4 separate regions of the Homo sapiens genome follow, and regions 2, 3 and 4 are each linked to region 1. The links are contacts of gene promoters, found by promoter capture Hi-C in blood cells and fetal thymus (Javierre and others, 2016). All regions are on one chromosome and are shown on one strand. Each heading gives the region's core, a stretch centred on a gene start or on the middle of the fragment in contact. The rest is flanking DNA. Distances are from core to core; before and after follow the strand shown. Region 1 holds the start of MID1IP1-AS1 (MID1IP1 antisense RNA 1). Region 2 has its middle 54 kb from the start of LINC01283. Region 3 overlaps LINC01283 (long intergenic non-protein coding RNA 1283). Region 4 has its middle 3.9 kb from the start of LINC01281.

Evidence for each region. The method cuts DNA at HindIII sites, captures the fragments that hold promoters and counts their contacts. A CHiCAGO score of 5 or more calls a contact.
Region 2: a fragment that was not itself captured here is called in contact with the fragment with the promoter of MID1IP1-AS1 in region 1 in 1 of 17 cell types (non-activated CD4 T cells); the score reaches 5.4 in non-activated CD4 T cells.
Region 3: a contact is called between a fragment that was not itself captured here and the fragment with the promoter of MID1IP1-AS1 in region 1, in 1 of 17 cell types (M1 macrophages). The highest score is 5.0, in M1 macrophages.
Region 4: a contact is called between a fragment that was not itself captured here and the fragment with the promoter of MID1IP1-AS1 in region 1, in 2 of 17 cell types (non-activated CD4 T cells and activated CD4 T cells). The highest score is 7.1, in non-activated CD4 T cells.

Annotation. Positions count from the first base shown.
Region 1 is chrX:38,802,380-38,805,787 of GRCh38, forward strand. MID1IP1-AS1 (MID1IP1 antisense RNA 1) reads right to left here and starts at 1,504. Exons shown (of 2, transcript NR_046706.1): 1 at 1,354-1,504. It overlaps MID1IP1 (MID1 interacting protein 1), which reads left to right. Exons shown (of 3, transcript NM_021242.6): 2 at 156-2,034; 3 at 2,304-3,408. The coding sequence starts at 2,568. The coding sequence ends at 3,119. RefSeq lists enhancers at 131-972, 973-1,814 and a silencer at 1,617-1,836. The HindIII fragment of the contact is 2,492 bases long and covers 691-3,182 here.
Region 2 is chrX:39,487,533-39,490,940 of GRCh38, forward strand. No RefSeq gene overlaps it. Among named protein-coding and RNA genes, the nearest start is that of LINC01283, 54 kb to the left of the region's middle. The HindIII fragment of the contact is 4,259 bases long and covers 1-3,408 here.
Region 3 is chrX:39,429,130-39,432,537 of GRCh38, forward strand. The region is part of intron 1 of LINC01283 (long intergenic non-protein coding RNA 1283); the gene reads right to left. Among named protein-coding and RNA genes, the nearest start is that of LINC01283, 4.0 kb to the right of the region's middle. The HindIII fragment of the contact is 1,582 bases long and covers 962-2,543 here.
Region 4 is chrX:39,329,593-39,333,000 of GRCh38, forward strand. No RefSeq gene overlaps it. Among named protein-coding and RNA genes, the nearest start is that of LINC01281, 3.9 kb to the left of the region's middle. The HindIII fragment of the contact is 461 bases long and covers 1,630-2,090 here.

The DNA of each region.
Region 1 (3,408 bases), core at 254-2,753:
CTTCAAAACCCTGATAGGTCTATCCCAGTTTTGCAAGTAAGAAAACATGGGCTGTGATGTAGAGCTAATACGTTTTGGGGTAGTGGGTCCTCAGACTTAGGTCTGTCTCCAAGGGTCACTGACTTTGTTTTGTTTTGTTTGTTTTTTGTCAACAGATTAGTCCTTGTGGCACCAAGTCAGAATTTCATTCAAAAGACAATTAGGAAGATGGTTTTCTATGGAAAATATTTAAGTGTAGGTCTTAATGTGAAAGAAAGAGGGAGAGAAAGAAACCCCTTTATTATGTTCTCCCTTCCTTAGGCATTTTTTGTCCCGTGGGAAAAAACTGTACTAGGGACAGAGACCTCTGTTAAGTTTTAGAGAAAAGGGATCTTTTTTTTTTTTATTTGAGACAGAGTCTTGCTCTGTCGCCCAGGCTGGAGTGCAGTGGCACGATCTCGGCTCACTGCAACTCCGCCTCCTGGGTTCAAGCAATTCTCCTGCTTCATCCTCCCGAGTAGCTGGGATTACAGGCGCTGGCCACCACGCCCGGCTAATTTTTGTATTTTTAGTAGAGACCGGGTTTCACCATGTTGGCCAGGCTAGTCTGGAACCCCTGACTTTGTGATCCGCCCGCCTCGGCCTCCCAAAGTGCTGGGATTACAGGCGTGAGCCACCGTTTCAGGCCGAGAAAAGGGATTTAAAATGAGAAGCTTGAATCTTATTGAACATAATTGTAGGACTGCCAGAGAGGACTGGTGGATGAGGAATATGGCAAGGGACATGAGATGGGAAAAATTAAATAGGCTGTGGTTTGGAAGTCTCAAAGTGAAATTCAAGGTGCAAGGCTCTTAAAAGTTAAATCCAGCGATTCGGTACATAGCTTAGGCCCTATTAAATGACCCAGTGCTTTAAGAACTATCTTTTGAAAGGAACACTTCACACAAGCACCCTCAAAAATAATTAGACACCTCCCCATTTCTCTGTTAAATGGTGAAAGACACCCAAGACTAGACCTAACTACTGTCACCCTCTCCTGGCCTCTTGGCAGCCAAAAGGCCACATGGCCCAGGCTCTCCAGCATCACTGTGTAGCCGACTTGGACAAAAATGGACTTCTCCCCATTGCCACTTGCAGATCTCTTCAAAGAATCAGCAGATCTGATAGTGTGCCCCTCTTCATCCCCGGCAACCACTGTTAAAGGAAAGATTGGGAAAGATCCCACCCCGCCAGGAGGGAGGCAAAAGCCTCTGACGCTCCCCTCCCCCCATAGCTGACCAAGGCCAGGGCCACTGCGGGAGCACCGCGCGTCCACGTGCACCCAGCATGCCCGGTCACCCTTTATTACGTAAGAGTCCCAGGATGGAGTTGTACCTGCTGCCGGCCCCTCTTCCCCGACGGCTAATAATAAACCCGGGTTCCTGTTTCCCGGCCGCGGCCACTCCAGATTCGGGGCTGAGGGGCTCACTCTGCAACCAAGGCACGTGCATTCTGGTCATCCCACGCGGGGAGCGCGCGCAAGGCCCGCCCAGCCCCCACATGCCAGCCCCACCCTCCAGTCGGTCCGGACGCCGACGCCTTTTTGACCCTCGCTGTGCCCGGCCCTCCTCATCTGGCCTGCCCAGGGCTTGGTGCTGGCGGGGTCCAGCTGCTCCAATCCCTCCTCCTCTGCTCTGCCCTGCCCTGCCCTGGCCTGCCCCGGCGCCCTCCCTCAGCCCGGGTATCAGGCGAGAGGCGGAGCTGGCCCGGCGCGCCCCGCCCCCGCTGTAGAAAGGGCCGGGCGAGTGTTACTCGCGGTCATCCCGGCCTGGGCCTTTTATCTCGGTGCTGCCGGGGGAGGCGGGAGGAGGAGACACCAGGGGTGGCCCTGAGCGCCGGCGACACCTTTCCTGGACTATAAATTGAGCACCTGGGATGGGTAGGGGGCCAACGCAGTCACCGCCGTCCGCAGTCACAGTCCAGCCACTGACCGCAGCAGCGCCCTTGCGTAGCAGCCGCTTGCAGCGAGAACACTGAATTGCCAACGAGCAGGAGAGTCTCAAGGCGCAAGAGGAGGTGGGTGCCCACGCCCCATCGCTGCCCCGGCCAGCTTGGTTGCTTGAGCTCAGGCTTTTCGGAGGGAGAAGTTGTGGTGGTGGGGGGACACCCTTCTCCCCGCGGCCGTAGGTGGGCGAGGAGGTGGGACTGCCCAGCCGCGGGGAGCCACCCAGGCGCCGTCCCGGACGAGCTGTAGCCAGAGAAGGGGGTGCGCGCGGGCAAGGGCGCCAGGCCCCCTAGCAGGGTGAATAATCTAATCTGTTCTTTCGTCTCCGTGTATCAAACAGGCCAGGGCTCGACCCACAGAGCACCCTCAGCCATCGCGAGTTTCCGGGCGCCAAAGCCAGGAGAAGCCGCCCATCCCGCAGGGCCGGTCTGCCAGCGAGACGAGAGTTGGCGAGGGCGGAGGAGTGCCGGGAATCCCGCCACACCGGCTATAGCCAGGCCCCCAGCGCGGGCCTTGGAGAGCGCGTGAAGGCGGGCATCCCCTTGACCCGGCCGACCATCCCCGTGCCCCTGCGTCCCTGCGCTCCAACGTCCGCGCGGCCACCATGATGCAAATCTGCGACACCTACAACCAGAAGCACTCGCTCTTTAACGCCATGAATCGCTTCATTGGCGCCGTGAACAACATGGACCAGACGGTGATGGTGCCCAGCTTGCTGCGCGACGTGCCCCTGGCTGACCCCGGGTTAGACAACGATGTTGGCGTGGAGGTAGGCGGCAGTGGCGGCTGCCTGGAGGAGCGCACGCCCCCAGTCCCCGACTCGGGAAGCGCCAATGGCAGCTTTTTCGCGCCCTCTCGGGACATGTACAGCCACTACGTGCTTCTCAAGTCCATCCGCAACGACATCGAGTGGGGGGTCCTGCACCAGCCGCCTCCACCGGCTGGGAGCGAGGAGGGCAGTGCCTGGAAGTCCAAGGACATCCTGGTGGACCTGGGCCACTTGGAGGGTGCGGACGCCGGCGAAGAAGACCTGGAACAGCAGTTCCACTACCACCTGCGCGGGCTGCACACTGTGCTCTCGAAACTCACGCGCAAAGCCAACATCCTCACTAACAGATACAAGCAGGAGATCGGCTTCGGCAATTGGGGCCACTGAGGCGTGGCGCCCGTGGCTGCCCAGCACCTTCTTCGACCCATCTCACCCTCTCTCATTCCTCAAAGCTTTTTTTTTTTTTCCTGGCTGGGGGGCGGGAAGGGCAGACTGCAAACTGGGGGGCTGCGTACGTGCAGGAGGCGCGGTGGGGCTGCGTGGAGGAGGGGGCCACGTGTGAGAGAGAAGAAAATGGTGGCCGGAGATGGGAGGGCCCAAGGAACCTCCTGGGAGGGGGCCTGCATTCTATGTTGGTGGGAATGGGACTGGGCTGACGCCCTGCATTCAGCCTGTG
Region 2 (3,408 bases), core at 649-3,148, 690 kb after region 1:
CCCAGAACCTCCTATAACAAGTGAGTGGCATTGTCTGCAAAGCAATCTGGCGTCTTGGGAAAAGGAAACCCTTATTTGAGGGAGTGGGCGGCTGGGGGTGGGAAGAATAGATTTTTCATTCCTCAAAACCACTCGCAGAACATAAAATTAGTCACAGCCCCTTTATACTAGGAACAGAAATCAAATTCACATGGTGCCTAATTTTGCCTAAAGACACATCTCTTTGTGCCACAGGGCTATGTCCAGAGGTCTGACAGATGAGACAGTCTTCATTCCCTTCCAACTGGGTGAGGATGTGCCTCCCAGAAAGAGCTGGGTGCCAAAGAGGGCGTTATCATCTCTTCCTTCATTCAGCAGCTTTGTCTGCAAGATTGGAAAACGGCTAGTTGGTATATTTCGAGGGATCAAATAATTAGTTCTCTTGGAATCTCATTTTAGATTTTAATTCTTAGTCTTAGAGCCAAACTATAGGAGCAGAAATTTCTATCTGCGGCTGGAGGGATTCAGTTTCGGCACACTAAAAAAAGGCCCTGCTTCGGAGGCATTTTTCCATGCATGAATCAAATTATTCCAGCTGGGTTTTACCAACACGTAGGCAATCAAAACCTACTTTCACTTGCTATTTTATTCTTTATTTACTAGTTCTATAAATACTATGATGGGTGTGCTTTTATATTGAGGATGGGGGTGGCAGGCAGAGAGAACAGCTGCCTGCAGCCTTCAGTCCCATGCAGACCTCAGGTTGGTGGGGAGACAGGCCTGCCTGCCTCCTGCCCACCCCAGTCTTTGGGCTTGTGAGTATAGCCACCAGTCTTTCATTTGTCATACCTGTGCAGGGCACCTTTGCCACCCTCCTTTCCTTCCTAGGTTGAGAAGGCCAACCTGGTTTTTCAGAACGGGTACCCAAGTCTGCCAAGGAAACAAAAATAAAATACTCTTAAAATCCAGGGAAGAGGCAGACAAATACAAACTACAGACAATTCTGGCCAAGGCTGGTACATCTGGAAGTGGCATCTGGAGCAAGAAAGGGAACTTAAGATGAGGGGTTGGCCTTGGTGGCCTCCAGCTCTGATAGCTGATGATTTGATGAATTATACTTGCGCTCCAGGCCCCAGTGGATAAACCAGGATTAAGGGGTGAAGTGCCCAGGGAGGCAGATTCTGACTCAGCATCAGGACGAATTTGATAAAGATTAGAGTTGTCTAAAAATGAATTGGGCTGCCTTGGGGGTAGCAAGTGCCCTGTTTCTGCATTTTTTCAAGCATGGGATAACCCTGAGGAGCAGCCACAGAGAAGGGACTCAAAGCTCTAAGGAAGTTGATTTGGTGACAGTTAATGTCCTCTCCAACTCAGGAATCCCACAACCTCCGCTCCAGGGACTCTGAACTTCCAAAGGAAGTGGATGTGCCCCTCGGGCTCTCTGCCACCTTTCCTAAATAGGCATAGCTCCTTCTGCCTATGGGGACCAGAGATCCTCCAATTTGGGCCAGCACAGGGGCACATAAGCAAAGGGAGTCCACAAAGTCATCATTAGGGAGAATATAAGTGTCAGAGGGCAGAAAAGTGTTCCCCTAAAGGTTTAAAATGTGGAAGGCCAGGATATGCAAGCAGGCTCAAAGCTAGGTGGGGAAGGAGGGGACATCCAAGACACAGGCTCTCTCAGCGTCTGGGAAGTTGCCATAGAACAATCAGAGCTTCAGCATGCAAGATATCTTCTTGTTCCCCACTCCTCTTCTCAGAGATTCATTTGCAAGCCACCAGAGTTCTGCGGGGGCTCTTGCCATGTAGCAGTTGTTCTTATTTTGCCAGGACAGAGCTCTTAAGCCAGCAAGGACCTGCAGGTGGGACTCAAGCCACAGGAGCTGCAGGGCCAGTGATGACGTTCCTGCTCAGTGCCGGGGCAGGGAATGCCCACTTCCCTCCATCATCAGCTTTCCCATGTGAGCCATAGCCAGCCTCCAACCTCAGCCCTCTTCTGACAGACTGGGGCTGCCCACAGCTCTGTCAACCCCTAAAGGGCCTTGGGCTTCTGCCTGTCCTTCCAGGCCACCAGTGGCACACACCTGACTGAGACATGGAAGTGGGCCTCAGCATGGCCTGATGGCACTGTGGCCCAGCCATCCTGAATACTCACCTGATGAAGGAGGCAGGAATTCAAGATGGCTGATGTGCTGGGTTGAATAATGTCCCCCTCCCAAATCCATATTCACCCAGAACCTCAAAATGTGGTCTTGTTTGGAAATGGGTGCAAAGGTCCTTTCCCACTGGCGTAAGTCCAGTGAGACAGAACACTCACATAAGTCGAGCAAAGCAGGTTTATTACTCACAGAGTAATAGGCAGAAATAAAAAAGAGAAGCCTAGGACCCACAGTAAGCCAGTCCCCCAAGGCTCAGGAAAGCTGCTCAGGGTGGATGGAGTCTCTTCTGCATGTGCCCCATGTCACGTTGCAGCTGAGGGGCCCTAAAAACACTCGGTCCTGGATTTTATACCTGAACATCACTGGAATTGCTGAGAATAAGCATTACAGGAGAGCCTGTTCTAGAAGGACTGAGGACAGAGCCCAGGCTGTTCCAGACAGTTCTTTCTTATCAGAAGACATTGCATTCTTGGCATATTCTCCAATTATTCTGAGAACTATAAGCTGCTGGGTGGAGGGGAGTTAGGTCAGCCAAGGCCACCTGGGGACCTGTCCTCCTGCAATAGGGTCTTTGTAGATGCAATCAAGTTAAGATGAAGTGGACCCTAAATCCAATGACGGGTGTCCTTATAAGAAGAGAGAAGTTTGGACACAGACACACATAGAGGGAAGATCACCATGTGAAGATGGAATCTCAGATTGGAGTGATGCGTCTGTAAGCCAAGGAGTGCCATGGGTTGCCAGCAACCACCAGAAGCTGGAAGAGTTAAGGAAGGATCCTCCCCTAGAGTCTTCAGAGAGAGGATGGCCCTGCTGGCACTTGGATTTTGAATTTCTGGTCTCCCGATTTGGGAGAGCATCAATCTCTGTGGTTCTAAGCCATCCAGTTTGTGATATTTTGTTACAGCAGCCCCAGGAAACTAATTCAGCCTGCTTGGCTGCCTGCCCCACCCATCCCTAGCTCCAGTGGATTCTGGCTGGGCCTTGGGGCCTCTTGACTGATCTGGATTTCAGTGCATTAGACAAGGGGAACAGGCAGCTTTGCCTCATGGGCGTAGCCCCACAGAACTGGAATGACTGGAACCAAAACCACAAATCTTCTTCCCCCTTTAGTTCTCAAAGGGCCACCATCTCCACCCCCAAGCCCACCTCAACCCTCCAGCCCCTTGGTACAGCCCTGCCATCTGGACCATGACTGTCTTGAAGGTGTCACTCTTGGAAAAAGTCAACAATCTCACATCTAAGGGCACTATTCCCACTAAAGATCTAG
Region 3 (3,408 bases), core at 503-3,002, 630 kb after region 1:
TTTTACTGTAGTTTTGGTCTAAGGTACACAGTACAGTACTGTATGTTAAAATTCCACCTGTGTTGCCTTTTACCTCCCACTTGTACCAGAGGTGGATTTCCCATGAAGCTAATGAAGCTTAAACCTCAGATCCCCTCACTATATGGACCCTGTTCCACATCCTCAGGCACAGATAGCAATATCTTTTCACAGTTATAAAATTTTGTGAATTTCCAAAATTAAAAGTATTTTGCAGTTTTTAAAGAGGTCCCCCAATTTGTACAAACCTCAGGTCCCACATAAACCTGGCTCCACTCCTGCACTTGCTCTACTATATTTCTTAGAGTAGATACACATTTTTCTTGTACTCATGTCTCTGTCAAACACAGGAAAATAAAGGAAAAGACAGCCATGAGTTTTAGGAAATGTGAAAGAGTGAAATTCTCAGAGGATACACTTGTATATTTAAATATGCAAACATTTAGCTCTGATTTATGGTTTCTGCTGCCCACCCAGCCCTTGTATGCATCTGCATTGGCAACCTCTAATCTGGCCTTTGGTAAGAAGCATTACAAAGAAAAAATGTTTCACTTTGTCATCCCATTACCTGTAGAAGTTCATGGAACCCATCAGCCTTGGTCTCCTGGACAAACAGGCTCAGTTAGCATCCTCACCTGTTTAGGGAGGAGGCCATGATTCTATGACACCATTGCACAGTGTAGACTACCATGTCAGTAAATAGTATCTGCTCCATTTATTGGATTATCACAAGTACGGGTGATAATACCACAAACCTCAAGACAGCTGGCTCCATCAAAGTCTGTGCAGCCATGTGGTACCTTCAACCAGTTCTACTAAACCTTGGCCACACCTTGGAACCACCTGGGGAGCTTTAAAACATATTTTTGCCTGGGTCACATCCCCAAAGATTATTCCGATTTAATCAGCCTGAGATGTGGTCTGGGCAATGACATTTTTTTAAAGCTTCCCAGGCGATTGCAATGTGAAGCCAAGGGTGAGAGTCACTGCCTGAGTCCATCTGATCTGGGGAGAACGCTAGAACCCTGTTACCCAAGGTGTGGTTCTCAGATCAGACCAGCAAGCATCGGCATCACCAGGCAGCATACTAGAAATGGAGAATTCCGCTCACACCTGTAATCCCAGCACTTTGGGAGGCCAAGGCAGGCGGATCACCTGAGGTCAGAAGTTCGAGGCCAGCATGGCCAACATGGCAAAACCCCATCTCTGCTAAAAATACAAAAATTAGCTGGGCATGGTGGAGTGCACCTGTAATCCCAGCTACTAGGGAGGCTGAGGCAGGAGAATCGCTTGAATCCAGGAAACGGAGGTTGCAGTGAGCCGAGCTGAGATGGTGCCAGGGCACTCCAGCCTGGGTGACAGAGCAAGACTCCGTCTCAAAAAAAAAAAAAAAGAAAGAAAGAAAGAAAGAAAAAAAGAAAAGAAAAGGAGAATTCCATATTCCAAGCCCCGTCCCAGACCTACCCAATCAGAATCTGCATTTTGTCAAGATTCCCAGGGGATTTGCCTGTCCAGTAGATTTTGAGAAGCACCGCCTTAGAAACCGTCAGTTTCTGGATCAGCCTCCTCTATTTCCAGATGCAGAAATTGGAAATCAATCACGTGAAATGATTTTAGCCAAGCTCCCCAAGAAGCCAGCTGGAGTCCCAGGTCTCCCATCCTCCAGCTTCAGCCAGATTTCATCCTCTCCCTCAGCTGGACTTCGTGCCATTTTAGAAGGATATCAAGAGTTAGAGGCATAGGTCCCATTTCTGAGTTGCAGAAACTACACAGTTTACTGCAGAATTTCTGGCTTTTTCTTGCTAGGGGGAAAATATGTCTCAGTAAGCTCCATTATGTATTCTGGGTATATGCAATGAGTTTGTCTTGAGACATATTTATGCTTGAGAATATTATGTATTCTCTTTATATACCATGCAAGGTTAAACTTTTTGAAAATTTGTATTTGCTTTTTATCACCCAGACATATAAGCAATTTATAGCCAGGCCTGATGGATTGGAATCAGATGGCAAAACCCGGATTAACCCCATGGATCCTGATGGCCATTGGTCAGTCCTTGCTATCCATGATATTTTCACCTGAGTGAATGCATTAAAGGCTTTCCTTTTAAGATAAATATGCAGGTGGGTATCGTTTTTGCAAAGCAGGCACTTCCTCTTGCTGCTTTAAGTTCATCCAGCACTTTTTTCAAAGACAGACATATTGAAACAGTCATACGCTGAATAATTCATGTGGAAAAATTGGGGGGAGAGCTAAGTAGAGGTGACTTGTGAGATATTCTTACTTGCTGGTGTTAAAAGATGGAGATTCCTTGTATTACATAATTGCTATTCACCAGAAATGCAGTGGTTGAGGCAGGTTAGGGATCCTTCATGAGGCCCCTTTTGCACCAATCCTTCGGTCACTCAACAAACTCTTACTAGTTATCTTTTAGAAATAAAAGATACTCCGAGTACACAGGCATATTTGAAGACCATCATGTAAACTGGCCTGGCCCAGGGAGGTCTGGTAACACACCAATAGAAGCTTCCTGACAAACACAAGACTTTATCACACGTGCACATGCATGGGTGCAGGCACAAACCCCCCAGCCACTAGTGTGATCTATCACCTACAATCTTTGCCAGGCCCAAAGAGGGTCTTTATGTGCAAATCCCTGGCCAAGGGTGGTCCTACAGAACTGCTCAGCATTCACCCAGGTGCAAAAGCCAGCCAGAGGATGAATCATTATTATTTTTTTAATCAAGTAACAGACCCAGGTGTAGCAGCAGCCCAGCTTTCTAATATCACTGTGGCTTTGATAAATATGTCCCATTCCTTGATAACTTTTCCAAATCCTTTAATATCCTGCAGCTCAGTCCCTGATGTCTGGCTGTCGCAAAAATGTGTGAAGGGAGACCAAATGTCAATAAAATCTCCCTGCCTGCCTCAACCCAGTACATAATCAGCTCCAAGGTAAATAAATGGTAAGTTAGTTATCTGCTGCCAGGGAGGGGAGGCCTCTGGGCTTATCTGGCTTTCATTTTTGCCTTCCTATGGAGCTGACCAAAACGTCTTCTTATTCCACTCTCTTCTGGGGGAGGGTGTTGAATTTTTTCCTCTTTTTTCCTTTTTTTTCCCTTTCCCCTTGGAGGGACAGACTGCTTTGCTTTTCTGAAATGGCTGTCCACTTTATGCTTCGCTCTCCTCAACTCCATTAAATCACCTTTCATCACATTAAATACAGGTCTTCAGGGTGGTCAGAGAGCTTCGCTCTGAGGGATGATGTTATAATAAGGGCAACGTGTATGAAAATCATTTTTCAGCTCAATCCCAGGCAGGCCACAAGGAGAGGGGAGGCACTACGTGTGTCTCACTTGAGACAGGAGCCAGGTTCCTGAAGAGATGTT
Region 4 (3,408 bases), core at 610-3,109, 530 kb after region 1:
GGCAAGAGTAGCAGTGGAGAGGCCATTTAGGAAAACAGGTGAGGGAGGATGGAGGTTTGGAATAAGACTGTAGCAGTGGAAATGGAAAGAAGTAGATGGATTTGAGATTTTGGAGGTAAGTCCAAAAGGACTTACTTCTGGACTGGATGTAGGGAATGGGGCAAAAGATTAAAAAATGATTTCTAGATTTTTGGCTTTAGCATCTGGAAGAAAGTGAGGCCATTTACCAAGATGACAAAAATTTAAAGGGAATACATATGTGATGAGGACAATTAAGAATTAAGAATTCCATTTTTTTTCTATGCTAAGTTTGAGATGTCTGTTAGAAATTAAAGAAGAGATGTTAACTGATATTGGGGTGGTGAAAATGTGTCACTTAGATCTCTTGCTGCATGAAGCAAAGTTGATTGATGGTCCCACCTTCTACATTGCACACTGAGGCCACATTTGCCACAGGCTGCTCCCAGGCAGTGACTGAAGACACCAGGGATACTAAAGCAGGTCCACTCCTGCAGGACATGGGGACTCCTCTGACAGGCAACCTTGGCTCAAGGACTCTTCATCAGCCTGGCTGGACATTTTCTGGAATTCTGCTACAGTCCAAGACTTTTTCTACCCAAGTCCCCTTCCTTCACTCTCCTTCCACAGGTGTCAGACCTGCATTGCTCTCTGGAGGCTCCACCTGCTCTAGCTCCCTACCTGCTGTTTTACTTGACAGGATTTTCCTCCAATAAATCTCTTGCACTTGTAATCCAGTCTGTTTTTTGGAGGACCCAAATGAACAAAACTAAGCAGGTTATCTATAAGCTTGGAGGGGTCTGTGCTGGAAATGTAAATCTGGAATATAGATGCTTCAGTATTCAAAGTCATGAGACTGTATGCGATCACCTAGGAGTGTAGGTATAGATAAAGAAAAGATGACTGTGAGACTAAACCTTGGAGTTATCTTTGTAGAAGTTGAGTAGAAGACAAAGAGCAAAATTTGTGTCATGAAAAATGAGGTATGGAAGTATTTTAAGAAGCAGGGAGGGCCAGGCATGGTGGCTGGTGCCTGTAATCCAAGCTACTTGGGAGGCTGAGGCAGGAAGATCGCTTGAGGCCAAGAGTTCAATACCAGCCTGGGAAACAGTGAGACCCTGTCTTTACAAAAAACAAAAACAAAATTAATTAGCCAGGTGTGGTGATTTGCACCAGTAGTCCCCGCTACTTGGGAGACTGAGGTGGGAGGATTGCTGGAACCCAGGAGATTGAGCTGGCTGCTGTGACCTGTGATTGTGCCACCATACCCCAGCTTGGGTGACAGAGCAAGACCCTGTCTCAAAAAAATTTTAAATTTAAAAGAGAAGAAGAAGCAGGGAGGGCCAACTGTGTCAATTGCTTCTGCGAGAACCAGCACAATGAGGGATAAGGAGAGTGTCCATTGGATTTGGTAACTTGGTAACTTGGAAATCAGAGCATGTAAATTTGTTGGGTTAGTGTTGAAAATATGGAGGCTTCATGTCATTATTTCCACTTTGTTAACAAAGAATGACATGAGAGCATAAGCTTTTGAGTAAGGAGTTGGGGAAATGTACGTTTGAAGAAAGAGAAGAAAGTGTGAAGTAGGTTTATCAGAGGGCAAATTTAACAAGCTTCCTAAGAAGGCTTGCCATGTGGTTAGAATGCTATTTCGAGGTTTGTGGTTATATATTTAAAGTGCAATCAGTTAGACCATTTGGGTAAAGGTCAACATGGAAAAGGCTGATTTCATTATAAAAGCATGTGAGACAGAGACAAGTGGAACTTTCCAGGACCCAAGGGATAAAAAGCCACCCAAGTTTGGAGAGGAAGTCATTCTTTCCCCATATCTTTTCACTCTAGATCTCAATGCAACTTTGGCACTCTAGCACTTCAGGGTTGGCACTGCCGGAAAGAACTGATGTGTGGTGGAACTGTGAGTATGACCATAGTCCCCAGGGGAACCACATCTTCTCAGCAGCGTTGGAGCAGGGTCCATGAAGAAGAGTCATCTCCTGAATGGTTGACTGGTTGTGGTTCTCCTCTAAGATGCCAAAGTTACAAAACCTGAGTGGACTTCTTCTCACAGTCAAAGCTTTCTCTGAGCAGTCTCAGAAAAACCTGGAGGAAACTTTATCATCCTGTAGCCTTTTCGGTAGAAACAACATGCTGTTGCAACTTAAATACTATGATGGTTAATTGTATGTGTCAACTTGGCTGGATCACAGTGCCCAGATATTTGGTCAAACATTATTCTGGTTGCTTCTGTGAGGGTGTTTTTGGATGAGATTAACATTTGAATGGGTGGGCTTTGAATAAAGCAGATGACCCTCCCTCATATGGGTGGGCCTTATCCAATCAGCTGATGGTTTGAATAGAGCAAAAATCTGACCTTCTCTGACCAAGAGGGAATTCTGTCAGAACACTAGCTTTTTCCTGGGCCTTCAGCCTCTGCTAACCTATCCTGCAGATTTTGGACTTTCCAGCTTCCATAATTGTGTGAGCTAATGCCTTAAAATAAATCTCTCTCTATCTCTGTCTCTGTATCTCTGTCTCCCTCTCTCCCCCCGCCAACACACACCCACCCACACCCACACACATCCCATTGATTCTGGTTCTCTAGAGAACCCTAACACAGATATAAATTCTAGTATGACTTATGTCTTGTCCAATAGTACTGCTATAAAAGGAATACCCGAGGCTGGGCAATGTATAAAGAAAATAAGTTTATTTGGCTCACAGTTATTCATGCTGTACAAGAAACATGGCACCAGCATGTGTTTCTGGTGAGGGCTTCAGGAAGCTTCCACTAATGGCAGAAGGCAAAGGGGAGCTGGTGTGTGCAGATCAATTGTGAGAGAGGAGGCAAGAGAGAGAGAGAGGAGGAGGAGGAATCAGGCTTTTTTTTTTTTTTTTTTTTTTTTTTTTTTAACAATCAGCTCTCACAGGAACTAGAACAAGAACTCACTCATTACCATGAGGGATCTGTCCCTGTGACCCAAACACCTCTCACCAGGTCCCACCTCCAACATTGGGGATCACATTTCAACATAAGTTTTAGAAGGTCAAATAACCAAACCATAGCACCTCATTTGCCCTCAAAGCCTGTGGAGGTCTAAATACTAAAGTTACATTTTTTATATCCAGAACCTGAAGCATTATCACATAAAAGTAGTCTAATTAGTGTTTGTTGAATAGATGAACAGATAGATGGATGAATAAGTAAGCAGAAGGAAGGAAGAGTAGATGGATGGATGGATGGATGGATGGATGGATGGATGGATGGATGGATAACTGAATAGATAATTGGATGATACCGTGGTGGAAAGAGCACTGAGCTTGGAGTCAGATGTTTTGCATTTAATTCCCAATATTGCCGCTTCTTAGTTTTGTGACCTTGAATATTTCTTT